2 separate regions of the Homo sapiens genome follow, and region 2 is linked to region 1. The links are contacts of gene promoters, found by promoter capture Hi-C in human tissues and cell types (Jung and others, 2019). All regions are on one chromosome and are shown on one strand. The core of a region is centred on a gene start or on the middle of the fragment in contact, and the rest is flanking DNA. Distances in the headings are between cores, read along the strand shown.

Region 1 (7,009 bases), core at 4,510-7,009:
TTAATGTCCTTTGTAGGGACATGGATGAAGCTGGAAACCATCATTCTCAGCAAACTATCTCAAGGACAAAAAACCAAACACCGCATGTTCTCACTCACAGGTGGGAATTGAAAAATGAGAACACATGGACACAGGAAGGTGAACATCACACACCGGGGCCTGTTGTGGGGTGGGGAGAGTGGGGAGGGATAGCATTTGGAGATACACCTAATGTTAAATGACGAGTTACTGGGTGCAGCAAACCAACATGGCACATGTATACATATGTAACTAACCTGCACGTTGTGCATGGGTACCCTAAAACTTAAAGTATAATAAAAAAAAAAGAGAGACATTTTAAAGCTGGGTGTCCGGAAGCGACATCACATGTCGGCAGGTTCCATGATGCCCCCTGAGCCGTAAAACCAGCAAGTTTTTATTAGCAATTTTCAAAGGAGAGGGAGTGTACGAATAGGGTGTGGGTCACAAAAATCACATGCTTCATAGGGCAATAAAAGATCACAAGGCAGAAGGTCAAGGCGAGATCACAAGGTCAGGGAGAAACTAGAATTACTAGTGAAGTTCCATGTCCCACTGTGCATGCATTGTCATTGATAAACATCTTAACAGGGTTCAAGAGCAGAGAACTGGTCTGACTAGAATTCGCCAGGCTGGAATTTCCTAATCCTAGCAAGCCTAGGGGCACTGCAGGAGGCCAGGGCATGTTTCATCCCTTATCTGCAACTGCATAAAGCAGACAACCCCCCCAGAGCAGCCATTTTAGAGGCCCCCCTGGGAATGCATTCTTTTCCCAGGGCTGTTAATTATCAATATTCCTTACCAGGGAAAGAATTCAGTGATATTTCTCTTACCCATTTTCGGTAATAAGAGAAATATGGCTCCGTCCTGCCTGGCTCCCAGGCAGTCAGACCTAATGGTTATCTCCCTTGTTCCCGAACATTGCTGTTATCCTGTTCTTTTTTCAAGGTGCCCAGATTTCATATTGTTCAAACACACATGCTTTACGATCAGTGTGTGCAGTTAATGCAATCATCACAGGGTCCGGAGGCAACATATATCCTCAGCTTACAAAGATGACAGGGTTAAGAGATTAAAGTGAAGATAGGCATAGGAAATTATAAGAGTAGTGATTGGGGAGGTGATAAATGTCCATGAAATCTTCCCAATTTATGTTCTTCTGTCACGGCTTCAGCAGGTCCCTCCGTTCGGGGTCCCTGACTTCCCACAACATCTTTCCCTTTCTTTTTATATAAATGTGCTATGGTGATGAAGGCTTGTTCATTCTCTCGATTTTGATGCAGGATTCTTTGACTGGTCTGGCACACTAAAGACAAGTCAATTAAACAGAGAAACCTAATTCCAAATTGCACTAGGCTGTCCCCCTGAAAAGCTGAGTCTTTTTCACTACCTGGCTAGAAGGCATATGAGAAACGGAAGCAGGAAATTCACAGAAGAAAAACTATACATGACTATGGAACATTTCAATGTAATTTTTAAAATTACATAGAAAACATAGGCATAGCTAGTTGTCCATGAGTTGCCTTGTCTAGCTTTTTGTAGTCATTGATTAATCCTCACTTTCAGATTTCACAAATCTCGACCCACTTTATTTTTATAGAATGAGATCATCTCTTGATAGAGGCCTTTGCAGTCTGATCACAACCTACAGTAAGAAATGCATTCTATATTATGACCCAGTACACATATTCCTGTACATCATTGAAAGGTTCAGAAAGCAATATTTTCATCATTAGGTGCAATGTCTCCTGTTTTATATTTTATTCTGTTCTATTGCATTTTTTAAAATGCTGGTCATGAGACCTGCAAAACCCATTCCATGACCCACCAATAGTCTGAGGCCAATGATTTGAGACTTTTGAGAGAAAAACAAACTTGGAGGACTGACACTGCCCAACTTAAAGACTTACTACAGCCAGGCGCAGTGGCTCACGCCTGTAATCCCAGCACTTCGGGAGGCCGAGGTAGGTGGATCATTTGAGGTAAGGAGTTCAAGACCAGCCTGGCAACATGGTGAAACCCCATCTCTACTAAAAATACAAAAATTAGCCAGGCGTGGTGGTACATGCCTGTAATCTCAGCTACTCGGGAGGCTGAGGCACAAAAATTGCTTGAACCTAGGAAGTGGAGGTTGCAGTGCACCGAGATAGCGCCACTGCACTCCAGCCTGGGCAACAGAGCGAGACTGTGTCTCAAATAAGTAAGTAAATTAATAAGTAAATGAATAAAAGACTTACTACAAAGCTACAGTAGTTAAGAAAGTGCTATTGGTAAAAGAATAGACAGATGAATGGAACAGAATAGAGAGCTCAGAAATAGACCCACACAAATATGGTGAAATGGTCTTTGACAAAGGAGTGAAGGCAATACAATGAAGAAAGGATAGGCTCTTTGACAAATGGTTGTGGAATAAATGGACGTCCACATGCAAAAAAAAAAAAAGAATCTAGATCTAGACCTTTACTCAAAATGGTTCATAGACTTAAAGGTAACATGCAAAACTATAAAACTCCTAGAGGATGACACAAGAGAAAATCTAGTTTAGTTTGATGATGACCTTTTAGATAAATCACCAGTTTCCTCCATTAAATACAATCTATGGAGGAAAAGGACTGATGAATTGGACTTCATTAAAATAAAAAACTTCTACGCTGGAAGAAAAGAAAACAGAATTGATATTCTCACCAGCTCCTAAACAAATTGGCTTTTCCAGGAAAACTCAGTTCCCCTGACACTCCTGTCTGTGGGCTTGGCCAGAGTGTGGGCATAGCAGTAGAGCTCCTCTCTCTTCACCCATGGCCTCAGCAAAGCCCCCAGTGCCCACTTTGCTCTGGCACACAGTGGTCTCAGCAGGAAGCCCCGTCTCTTCTGCTCCCAGGAGCCACACTCAGGTGCACTGTGAATCTCTTTCACAGTCACGTCTGCACCTGCAGTCTCCCTCCTGCAACATGCACACTGTTGCGACTGACTGCAGGCCACTCTGGCATCATGAGAGATGGCCGTTGCTGCTCCTGTGGAAGAGCAGACTCACCCTCTTCCAGGAACAGCCTTGGCTGCAACCCATGCTACCTTCCCCTGCCCTGGGGCATTACAAGGTCACACGAGATCAGCCTTTCTCAACCAGGGGCAATTTTGCCACCAGGAAACATGCAATGCCTGGAGACATTCTTGGTTGTCACAACTGGGGACTACTGGCACCTAATGAGTAAAAGCCGGATGCTGCTAAACATTCTATAATGCACAGGACAGCTCCCATCACAGAGAATTATACACCCTTAATGTAATAGTGCTGGGATGGTTAATGTTATGTGTCGACTGAAGTGGGCTAAGAGATGCCCAGAGGGCCAGTAAAGCAGGATTTCTGGTTGTGTTCATGAGGGTGTTTCTGGAAGAGATTGGCATTGGAATCTCCAGAAAGTAAACAAGATCCATCCTCACCAGTGTGGGCTGGTAACATCCAGTTTGTTGAGTGCCAGAATAGAACAAAAAGGTGGATGAAGGGCAAATTCTTTCTCTTCTTGAGCTGGGATATCCATCTTCTCCTGCTCTTGGGCCTTCAAACTCAGGATGAATTACACCACCAGCTTATCTAGTTCTCCGGCCTGTAGATGGAAGACTGTGGGACTTCCCAGCCTCCATAATCACATGAGCCAATTTCTACAATAAATCTCTTCTTATATTCCTATATCCATATCCTATTATTTCCAGTTTTCTGGAGAAACCTGACTGATAAAGTGCCATGGTTGGGAAATCCTGCCCTAGATTTCTTTCTTTGGTCCTCGAAGCCTCACCCCTATTCCCCATAAATCCCACACCTGCAAGAAGAAAGGAAATGTAAAAAGAGTCCCTTCTGGGAACGGATGCTGATTCCTATGTAGATTTCTCTATTGAGAGATAACTGTTGCTCAGTAGTTGGACACTACTAGTTCACTTTTTTGAGGATTTCAAAACTGAGGTCTCTCTTCTCTATGGATGTTTTTTTTCCAGTCCTATTGCTTCAAATATCATCTAAACACTTTCAACCCATAACTTTATTTCCTGTCTGGGCCTCTTTTTCTGAGCTGTACTGGACATCTCAAATCACACGATTTGTGGATATCTGAAATTTAATTCCCAAACTGAATCCTTGGTGTCCTTCACCTCCCCACACCCAATACTGGTCCACCCCAGTCTTCTTCCTCTCAGTCTATGACCGTCATCCCCTGCCCACTGGCTTCATCACTGGGTAGTCGTTCCATCCCCTTGACTCCTCCCCTTGTCCAGCAACCTCCTAACATGCACACACACACACGCACTTATGGGGAATATTAGCACGCTTCTTCATCTCAAGCCCCCCCTCCCTCCCCCAGCCCATCTCCTAGAATGGATTCACTTGAATTCACTCCTGGTTTGCAGGAAAGTGCAGAAATCCAAGGAATGTGGTGGGAATTGGTGGTCCAACTTAAAGGGTCTAACCCTTTCACCCTTATCTCCCTCTGATCCATTTTCTACCCCAGAGCCAGAGTGATCTTAAACCATAAGTAAGCTAAGGTTACTGCTTTCTAGAAACACTTCAATGCCTTCTATTACAGTTGGGGGGATACAAATTACGTAACGTGGCTTGCAAGACTCCCCCTCCCCTACTTTGAATGGTCCTTAGGAGTTGGCCTTCTGTCAGGGCCTGGGAGATGCCGAGCTTGATCCTCAGTAACTTTGCAGAGGCTGTTCCCTCTTTGGAGCCCTTCCCTCACTCTTCCCCTTACCAAGGACAATCACTTCTTCGGTTCTCAGCTCCTGTGAGACCCCAGGCGGGAGCATTTGGGTGTGCGTCATTGGAGGGCTCACTTGCCATTCTTTCTCTTTTCCCTCTTTCCTCCAATGGCTCCTGTGGAGGTTTTGAGACTCCTCAATGTCACTCTGCTTCTCTCTCCAGTTCCAGTCCTAACAATAGGAACCCTAGGTGCCCCGCCCCAGCCTGCTCCAGTCCCCTAGGATAGAGCAAGGAGAGCTCTTCCCTGCATCTAGCCTGTGACAAATGGCTCTAGTGACAGCCCTCTCTGCCTTGTTTCCAGTCCTTTAATGAGCTGCCCGCAGCCAGCCTCACTCTCACTCTGCTCTTCACACCCACTGAGCCCCACGCTTGGAGCTGCTGGGGGTCTGCCAGAAAGACCAGCTCCTAAGATCCCTGCAGGCTGTGCCTGCTCAACTTCTCAATGTGGCTTTCTCAGCCCTGCTTTGTGCTCTCATAAAATTCTATCGACTTTGGGGTTTTTTTATAAATTTGTCCAAATTCCACTCAGAGTATTGTTTCATGCATCTCAACTATGATTTTGATGGGTTTGGGGAAGGAAGGTGAGTTCCTGGGTTCTGCTGATATCTGAACCTGGAAATCTTACCCATATTGCTGAGTGCTGCACCGGGAAGTGCAGGCTTACTTTGGGGCTGCCTTCAGGGGCAGGAGGCTGTGTGCAATGCAGGCATCACCTGGTGCAGGGCTGGAACATATCAGATGACTTAATGGGCTCCAAACTTGAAATCAGGGCTGCTTAGTAAAAGATGGGATGTATGTAGAATTACATAAGAAAGATCCAAGCTTCCAGGATTTGGAATGAAACAGTCTCTTCAGAATGTGCTCTCAGGATTCCCAGAGGCGAGCTATTTCTCAAGATTTCCTTGACCTTTGTCACCATCAGGAATTAATGTTTAACTGGCACATGTGGCTGGAAATGCAAGAAGAGGGAAACGTGTGGCTTGGAGTTTCAAGAAGAGTGACTGTCTCAGTGCCGAGTGCCTCAGCAGCTTCTCCACATGCTCTTCAGTCCCCAAAGTTGGAGAATCCCATCAAGGAGAGTAGCCCTGTAAGGAATTCGAATTTCCAGCATGTAAGTCTCTGATTTTATACCTACTCAGATTGTAGTAGTGGAAAACAGCAACATGTACCTTGACTCTCTGGCCCCATGTTACTGAACATTTGCTTAAAGGTTAACTCACTTGAGGGAGCTTGTGTGGTGCTTTCTCTTCTGCTGCAGGCTGGCAGGGGTTTTTGTTCAGTGGGGGCTGTGCACTTGGTGGCTCTCCATGCACACACAGTCACTCCAGTGACACATGTTTGATAGGTGCTGGGAATGATTTCATGACTGGCTCAGTAGCAAATGCGGGCCAGATGTGATTCTATTTTTTCCATGCACCACCAGGGATGGTGTTGGGTATTTTATTCCCCCAGCCTCTGTTTCTTCTGTAAATGAGGATTTTCTTAGTATCTACCTTGTGAGGATTAAATCCCATGATTTTATGGAGGTGATTAGTAAATGTGAACTCTGCCCTTCCCTTTATAACATCTGAGGCTCCGTCAGGGCTCTCTCCTTTTGGTGTATGTTATAGTTTACTTAGAGGTCAATTTGGTGTCTACCTATGCAGTGTGATTTGAGGAGAATTAGAAGATCTTTCCCACCAACTTGCCATGCTGAGTACAATTCCCATCTGAAAACATATGCGGATAGGAATTTCTATTGGGAGAATTGTTCGGTTATCGACTTCAAGGAGTCGAAGTTCTCCTGGTTTTAAGTCTGTTGTCGGAAGTATATAAGAATCAAAGCTTAATCGATGGAAATCATTGCTCTCCATCATGCGTGAGTTAAAACCATTACTTCTGAGTGGTCAGTTTACATTGGGCTCTGTCTAGAAGGTTTGCCTTCTTCACCTCCAGTCACATCCCCATTTCACAAGTGAGCAAACAGCCAGAGGAGGGGAGGAGGATGGCATAAGATCTTGCAGCTGGCAGAGACGAAATGTGAATGTAGCCCGTTTGCACTTGGTGCTGTCGGGCAGCCAAGCAATCCAGTGTGTAGGTCCAGGGCGACAAGCGCTGCTCCCATGGCTGGGGTAAGTCCCTCCAGCATTCAGCCTTGCTCCCTGTGCTTATCTGGATGCGGTGTAGGATGAAGATGACCCTATAGAACTCTACCCTGGAAGTCCTGGCAAAGTGGATATGTGACATTTTTGAAACCAGGGA
Region 2 (6,608 bases), core at 1,686-4,185, 110 kb before region 1:
TTTTGCAGTTGACCACACCCACAGAGGTGGCACACAGAGTCCTTACTGAGGTAGACCAGCTGACAGAATAAACGCCATAGGGATGCTTGTAAGAACTCAGTGTGATTTCAGTCGTATCTTAATGTAGTAATTAAAAAAAAAATGGTGTAGAATATGAAAAATTGTCTTCTTTTGAATCAAACCTTTAAAACCCCTGTTTGGAAGATTTAACTGTCGCTCTTCGTTAGAATTTAGTGAAGCTTACAAGTCAGAGAACCATAATTGATTTTATTATCTAAACAGATAAAATGCTAATGAACCCCACAGGACATTTTACAGTTGTTTCTAAAGTATGGCATTTAAAATTTCTAAAAAGTTTTATTTTTGCTGTAATGGCTCTGGAAAGTATGAAGGTTTGAAACATCCAGATAGAGTGGTTGGATTCAGTTTATGAAGATTATAACCTATTGAGTTACCAGATTGACCTGGCTTTGTTGAAAATATTCATGATTGAATGTATTAAAGTAGAAAATAGTTGTACAAATAATCCACCTCAGAGGAGAGTAAAAGCATTTTGAGGATATGTGTTGTGTTTATATTTTGGCATCTGTTACCTTATATTTACTTTGAATAATGACAGAATTACTTTGCATTTGACCTAATTGCAGAGCTATGACCCAGGAATGATCTGGTTGACTGACAGAAGGCTTAGCAGGAAAAGGACAGGAGACCCCGGGGGCTGCTTGCCTGGGGAGCACAGCCAAGGGGCTGTTAGGAATGCATAGAGAGAAATAACTGCACATGAAAATTCCCCAGAGGGAATGAAAACATGTTATTTTCCTAGAAGAGAACAGTCTCAGAGTAGGAACTGTACCACTGTTTTTATTTCCAAAGCAGGATTAAAAGCCTGGCATTGAATTGGCAGAGTGGCCCCACAGCACACGTGTATGTGTGTGCAAGTGTGTGCATGTGTGTGGACATGTTCGCACGTGTGCACGTGTGTGGCATTGAGACCAACCTGCATCACCCAAGACTGACTATACTTAACAGTGAACTTTGTGTTTTGGCCAGTATTGACTTTTAGATGGCCCACTGAGATAGAAATATTGAGCTGTTAATACGGTAAGTTAAGAGTGGCGCTCGTGCTAATTGTTTTGCAGAGCTTCAATTAAGCAGCTATTCCCTGTCAGCTAAATAGGAGTGTAGGAGATGAGTGGGTGCGTGATGCATACGTTCTAGAACTTTCCTGAAGCCCCAGATTCGTGGTCTCCACTATAACTTTTCCTCAAGATGGATGCAGCAGTCTCAATAAATACAGAACTGAGGTCTTGTCTTTGGCAGGCAGAGTTCTCTGGACTGCAATTTTCGCTCCAGCAGTTGGCAGTGAGGCTCTCCTCTCCCTGAGGCCACAAGCCTTCTGGGCCTCGGGTAGCTCAGGCAGGTACATGCCTGCCCCTCCAGGGGTCCTGATTTTTTGCCAACCAACTCTTCCCCACCCCACCTCACCCCAGCTATGAGCAAGAGTTCGCCTGCTGACTCTGAGTGTTCTTCCTTGTGATTAATTATTGATTATGCAGTAATTATTAATTATTGATTCAGCACTTTGTCCTTTTAATATCTGGCCAGGATTAATATTTGACCACTCACAACCTGAACCATGGCAACATCTCTCTTCTTCCCTCCTTCCACACAGATCCTGGGCACACAGGGCCCTGCTTGCTGCGTCTCAGCTGCTGATTTCACCCAGTCCGCATCTTCGGATCCATCTGACCCCTGTTTTTCTAAGGCAACCTTCCTCTTCCAGCCTGATGCTCCCCAGCCCCTGCCCTCTCCCCTGGCCCTGGTTTGAATGTGGCCTCTGTTCTTCCAGCAAGGGCTGTGCTGGCCAGGCCTCAGTGATCTCATCGCTGCCATTTCAGCAGCCTCCCTTCTGTCCTCACCCCTCCCTTCTATCTGTCTGTCTTCACCAGGATCTTGAGCGTGATCTGGCTAAACCCTGCTCCTACTGTCCCACCCACTCCAGAAGCCCAAGCACTACCCCCGGGGGTGACCCTGCCCACTCCATACCCCCTCTGCACTACCGTGGTTGCCCAGGACTTCCCTCCCTCATTGTTGTTGTTTTGTTTCCTTATGTCTTGTCTTGTTATGCCCTTTAGCCTTGAGAGATGAGGGGAGCCCTTTAAAACAAAGGCCTTCCTAACCAGAGGGCAGAGTGCCCCTCTGAAGCTTCTGTGAGGAGCACACACCTGGTAGGAGAGAATGAGGGATGCAAAGCTTATTTTCAATACCGCTTATGTGACCTTGGGCAGGTGATTTAATTCTTCCAGGCCTATTTCCTCAGCTGTTAAGCCAGGTTAATAACGATCACTTTTTGTTATTTTGTAAGAAATAGATGAAATAGGGCTAATAAATAACATCTTCCTGTTTACTGTGTGCCAAGCTGTGTTATAAAGCAGATAATAACTAACCTAGTCCTTACAACCCCCCCCCCCCCCCGGTGGGGTGGACACTATTGCTAAGCTCATGTTAGAGTTGAGGACTCTTAAGAAATAGGAAGCCCACGTCCTGGGCCCTGGGCCCAGAGCTACTAGGAGCAGGGCAGGGTGAGCAAGTTTGCAAGTGCCGGTCTCTGCTTTCCTTCCTACCAATGTAGCCTTTGGTAGGAAGAGGGTCTTGCTGTCTGTGACCCTGTGTGTTAAGTGGGTGTAACTTGCAGCTATTCTGGGAGCAGAAGAGAGGACGAATTATGTGAGCTTCCATCATTATTTGCCATGATGTCAAAAAGCGAAAAATCTAAAAATGCAGAAGAAAGGAGTCAATATTATTAGAATGTATTGGGTTACACGTACAAAACTCACTCAAATTAGCTTAAGCACAACAACAACAAAATTATTGTATGGATGCAAGAATGTTTTACCAATCTTCCCTGAGCAGGAGTGCAGCCAGGCCTTAGGAAGCACCGGAAGCTGCACAGCCCTAGCTCCTGGCTCCCTTTCCCCGTCCCACCCCAACCCCTCCCCATCTCCATGTGCTGGGTTGTAGCCCTAGGTCTCTGTTTCTCTGGAGAAACAGACCCATTAAATAGGCTGTATACAGAGAGAGACACATGTGTTTTAGGAATTGGCTCATGACACTGTGGAGGCTAGCAAGTCCAAAATCTGCAGGGCAGGCTGGCAGGCTGGACATCCAGGGAAGGGTTGCAGCTCAGGTCTGGAGGCAGAATTCCATCTTTCCCCTTGGAGGCCGGTCTTTTTCTTCTATTCAGGTCTTCAGGTGATGGGCTGAGGCACTCTCACATGAGAGAGAACAATCTGCTTTACTCAAAGTCTGTGGTTTAAATGTTAATTACATCTAAAAAATACTTTCACAGCATCTAGTCTAGTGTTTAGCTAAAACCTGGCACCATGGCCCAGCCAAGTTGGCACATAAAACCAACCATCACTGTCTCTGCGTGCTCATTCCTCCCTTTCTACAGTGCGTTTTCCGCCGCTCTCTCTCTCACTTACTCTCTGTGCCATTGTGGCTTCTCTCTCTGCATCTGCCCCATGCCTTCCTCTGTGAAGATGGGCTTCCTTCTGCACTCTGGCCAATCGAGAGGATGGGTGGGCACCCGAAGCCCTCAGGCATGTGTTGTAGTAGCAGCCACACACAAACCCCTGCCACAGTGTCAGCCCCTACTTAACCTTTCTGGGCTGGAACCAGTGTCAGTGTTGGGTGCTGCTCTGTTTCTGTCTCTTGTTTCACTTCTGGAATCCCAGGGAAGGGAGAGTCCTGATCCTGGGAGACACCTGTGATTCAGTCAGCTGAGTCCAGGCCAGTGGGGTCGTGCTATGCAGCTGTGGCTGTGTGCGGCCTACCGGAGGGGGTGGGGAGGAGAGAAGGGGGTGCTGAAGGGAGCTGAGCAGATGCTCTGAATGGCTTCTCCCTGGAGACAGGTAGAAATGCAGCCCAGCTCTAATGATTGAATTGTCTCTGGAATGTCAGTCATGATGAATACATGTAATATGCATGCTTCCATACAGTCATACTTGTCTTGGTGTTTCCCCTCTACCCCTTCCATAATATTTGAAAAATAGGATTGAGGTTTGGAACCTGATCACCAAGATGTACATTTGGGTTTGATTGCTCTCCATTGTTAAAGTTTCTTTTTTGCTCTTGCCTTTTTCTGTGCAGAGGATGATGTGGACCTGGAAGCCCTGGTGAACGATATGAATGCATCCCTGGAGAGCCTGTACTCGGCCTGCAGCATGCAGTCAGACACGGTGCCCCTCCTGCAGAATGGCCAGCATGCCCGCAGCCAGCCTCGGGCTTCAGGCCCTCCTCGGTCCATCCAGCCACAGGTGTCCCCGAGGCAGAGGGTGCAGCGCTCCCAGCCTGTGCACATCCTCGCTGTCAGGTAGGTCCAGGCCTTATGGGCAGAGCCTTCTCCAAGGATGAGAGCTGTCGGCAGGGACACTGCTCTCTGTGAGTTAAATGGTGTTGGGGGGAATAGTGTTGGTCTTGCAAAGTCAAGAGGCAGATACATTGCTTTGATGGGATAACGGATACACTGAGTGTGTGCAGTGTGCCGCCCTTGGGTTGAACTTTGTAGCCAGTTCAATTCCAGTAGTACCTTTTATTGAGTGCCTGCTATGTGCAAGGCACTGTGCTAGGTAGAGGGATATGCAGGAAAACCACCAGAGGAAAAATCTCTGGAAAGATTGGAAGAACAGCCATGGAGCTGATTGCATGCCCCAAGTCCTCACTACCCAGAGTAGGGACGGGAGGCTAGCAGCTACAGCACCCCCTGGAGCTTGTCGTGCAACCCCAGACCTCCCTCAGAGTTGCATTTTGCCACATTCCTCTGCTAATTCAGGGGTAGGCACATCTCTGTGGAAACAGGGAGGCTGGAGGGAGGAACGTGCTGGGGACGTTGAGGGAGGTTCCTGGGAGGTAGGATTTCTGAACGGATGTCAAAGGGTGATAGGAGCTCAGATAGATGGAGGCAGAGGTTTTGTGAGCAGAAGAGATGATGCAGATGGGGGCCGGTGCTGAAGCACTTTGTGTGCCTTTTTCAGGAGCCACGTGAGAAAGAGTTCTGGACAGGCGTGTGAAGGGGCTGGGTTTGGGTTTTGACACCAGCATTCTGGTTGCCAGGGGTCGTGGGGGCAGTGGTAGAGGGCAGCAGGGTTGGCAGAGCATGGCCGGTTTGGAAGTGGTCTCAGGAGCCCCCGGATGGGAGATGATTGTGCGCTGCCTGAGGATGAAGAAGGAGGGGGGATTTGAGCACGTTGCTGAGGAGGAGCAGCTGCGTTTTGCCAGCACTTGAATTTTGCCAGGGCTGTGAGGAGACAGAGAGTGTGTGGAGGGTGACTTGGATTTTGTCTCGAGTGCCTGGGAGGAGGGTGTCTAGAGAATGGTCATGTCGAAGGTGAAGGTGCTGAGAGTACCTTAGACATTCTGAATGAAGATCTTTGTAGAATCAAGCTGAGAGCCAGGGGCAGCCCTCAAGGATCCGCCTGTCTGCCCTGTCGCAGTCGGGATGGCGTGGGGCTCCGTGGGACCCTGCGTGCCTCTCTGGGCCTTTGCGGAGGATGTACAGCCATCTCTGCTGGGACTGCCCCTTGCCCTCACTGGCCTCTGTCAGGATGGGGTTCTGGTGCCTTCTGTCTCAGCACCCCATCTTCCGGGGAGCTCTGTTCATTTCCTGGGCTCTTCTTGCTTCTAGAAACTTCTGAGAGTTTTCTTTGTGGTCTGACATCTTGGGTCTTCCGCAGCCCAGATAATCACCTTGCCCCAGGTGGCAGCTGTTTCTTACGGAGGGGAGAGGGTGCAGCGGCCCTGGCGCCCGTGGTCAGCTGCCTCCCCAGCTTCCCACCCCGGCTTCCCCTCCGACTTCTCACTTTTTGTCATATTCATTGATGCTGAATGATGCCTGTCCCAGGGTTTGTTCAACTTTGCTCTTTGAAGCGTGACCCCTTGTACTTAGCTCCTGAGGAGTTAAGTCTGGTGGGAGAGCTGTTTTTCTCTTGGGAGCATCTCTTGGGAGCATCACAGTAGCCTTGGGGAGTGCCTGGGAATATGGAGGTGCAGTTGCATGGCGAAGGTGCCCGAGGGTGGGCTGGAAAGCCAGAAGGCCTGCCTCCCTGCTGGAGTAGTTGCCCAGGACCCTTGAACCTCGAGTTCTGGCTGAACTCGCCCATATGTGCCCCGGGACTACCTGCGCTAAGTCCCTGGGATGGAGGGGCAGGCTTGCTCTGTGGGACAGCAAAGCCCTCTCCCTACAGGGTCACAGGTGCTGTTCCTTGGGCCCAATGTCTTCTCTCTGGTGTCCTCTCAGATAAGTAGTTTTGTTTCTTACTTTCAGGTGGATTAAAAAAAAATGTGGAGATCAATCTGGAATCACCAAAGATTATTTTGTGAAGTGAGGCCATTTGCTGAGTGCTTACTGTGTGCAGATGCTGATGAGCTCCTCCTTGTTATCAGTGCCCTCGGAGGGAGGCAGTGTGGGTTACCCTCGCTTCCCAGCTGAGGAAACCGTGGCACAGCGGGGCGGTAACTGGGCTCACCACATCAGGTGGGAAGTGGCCATGGAGCAGGCTGCTGGGTACCAGAGGTCACGGAGCATGGTCCACGCTGCAGAGGAACTT

What was found. Contacts are between HindIII fragments. The study calls those that stand out against the background at their distance.
Region 2: a fragment that was not itself captured here is called in contact with the fragment with the promoter of DDC in region 1 in 2 of the 25 tissues and cell types used here (liver and thymus).

Annotation. Positions count from the first base shown.
Region 1 is chr7:50,564,155-50,571,163 of GRCh38, reverse strand. DDC (dopa decarboxylase) reads left to right here and starts at 5,759. Exons shown (of 15, transcript NM_001082971.2): 1 at 5,759-5,879. RefSeq lists an enhancer at 371-896. The HindIII fragment of the contact is 6,956 bases long and covers 1,776-7,009 here.
Region 2 is chr7:50,672,203-50,678,810 of GRCh38, reverse strand. GRB10 (growth factor receptor bound protein 10) reads left to right here. Exons shown (of 19, transcript NM_001350814.2): 6 at 4,153-4,375. Among named protein-coding and RNA genes, the nearest start is that of GRB10, 110 kb to the left of the region's middle. The HindIII fragment of the contact is 3,425 bases long and covers 1,223-4,647 here.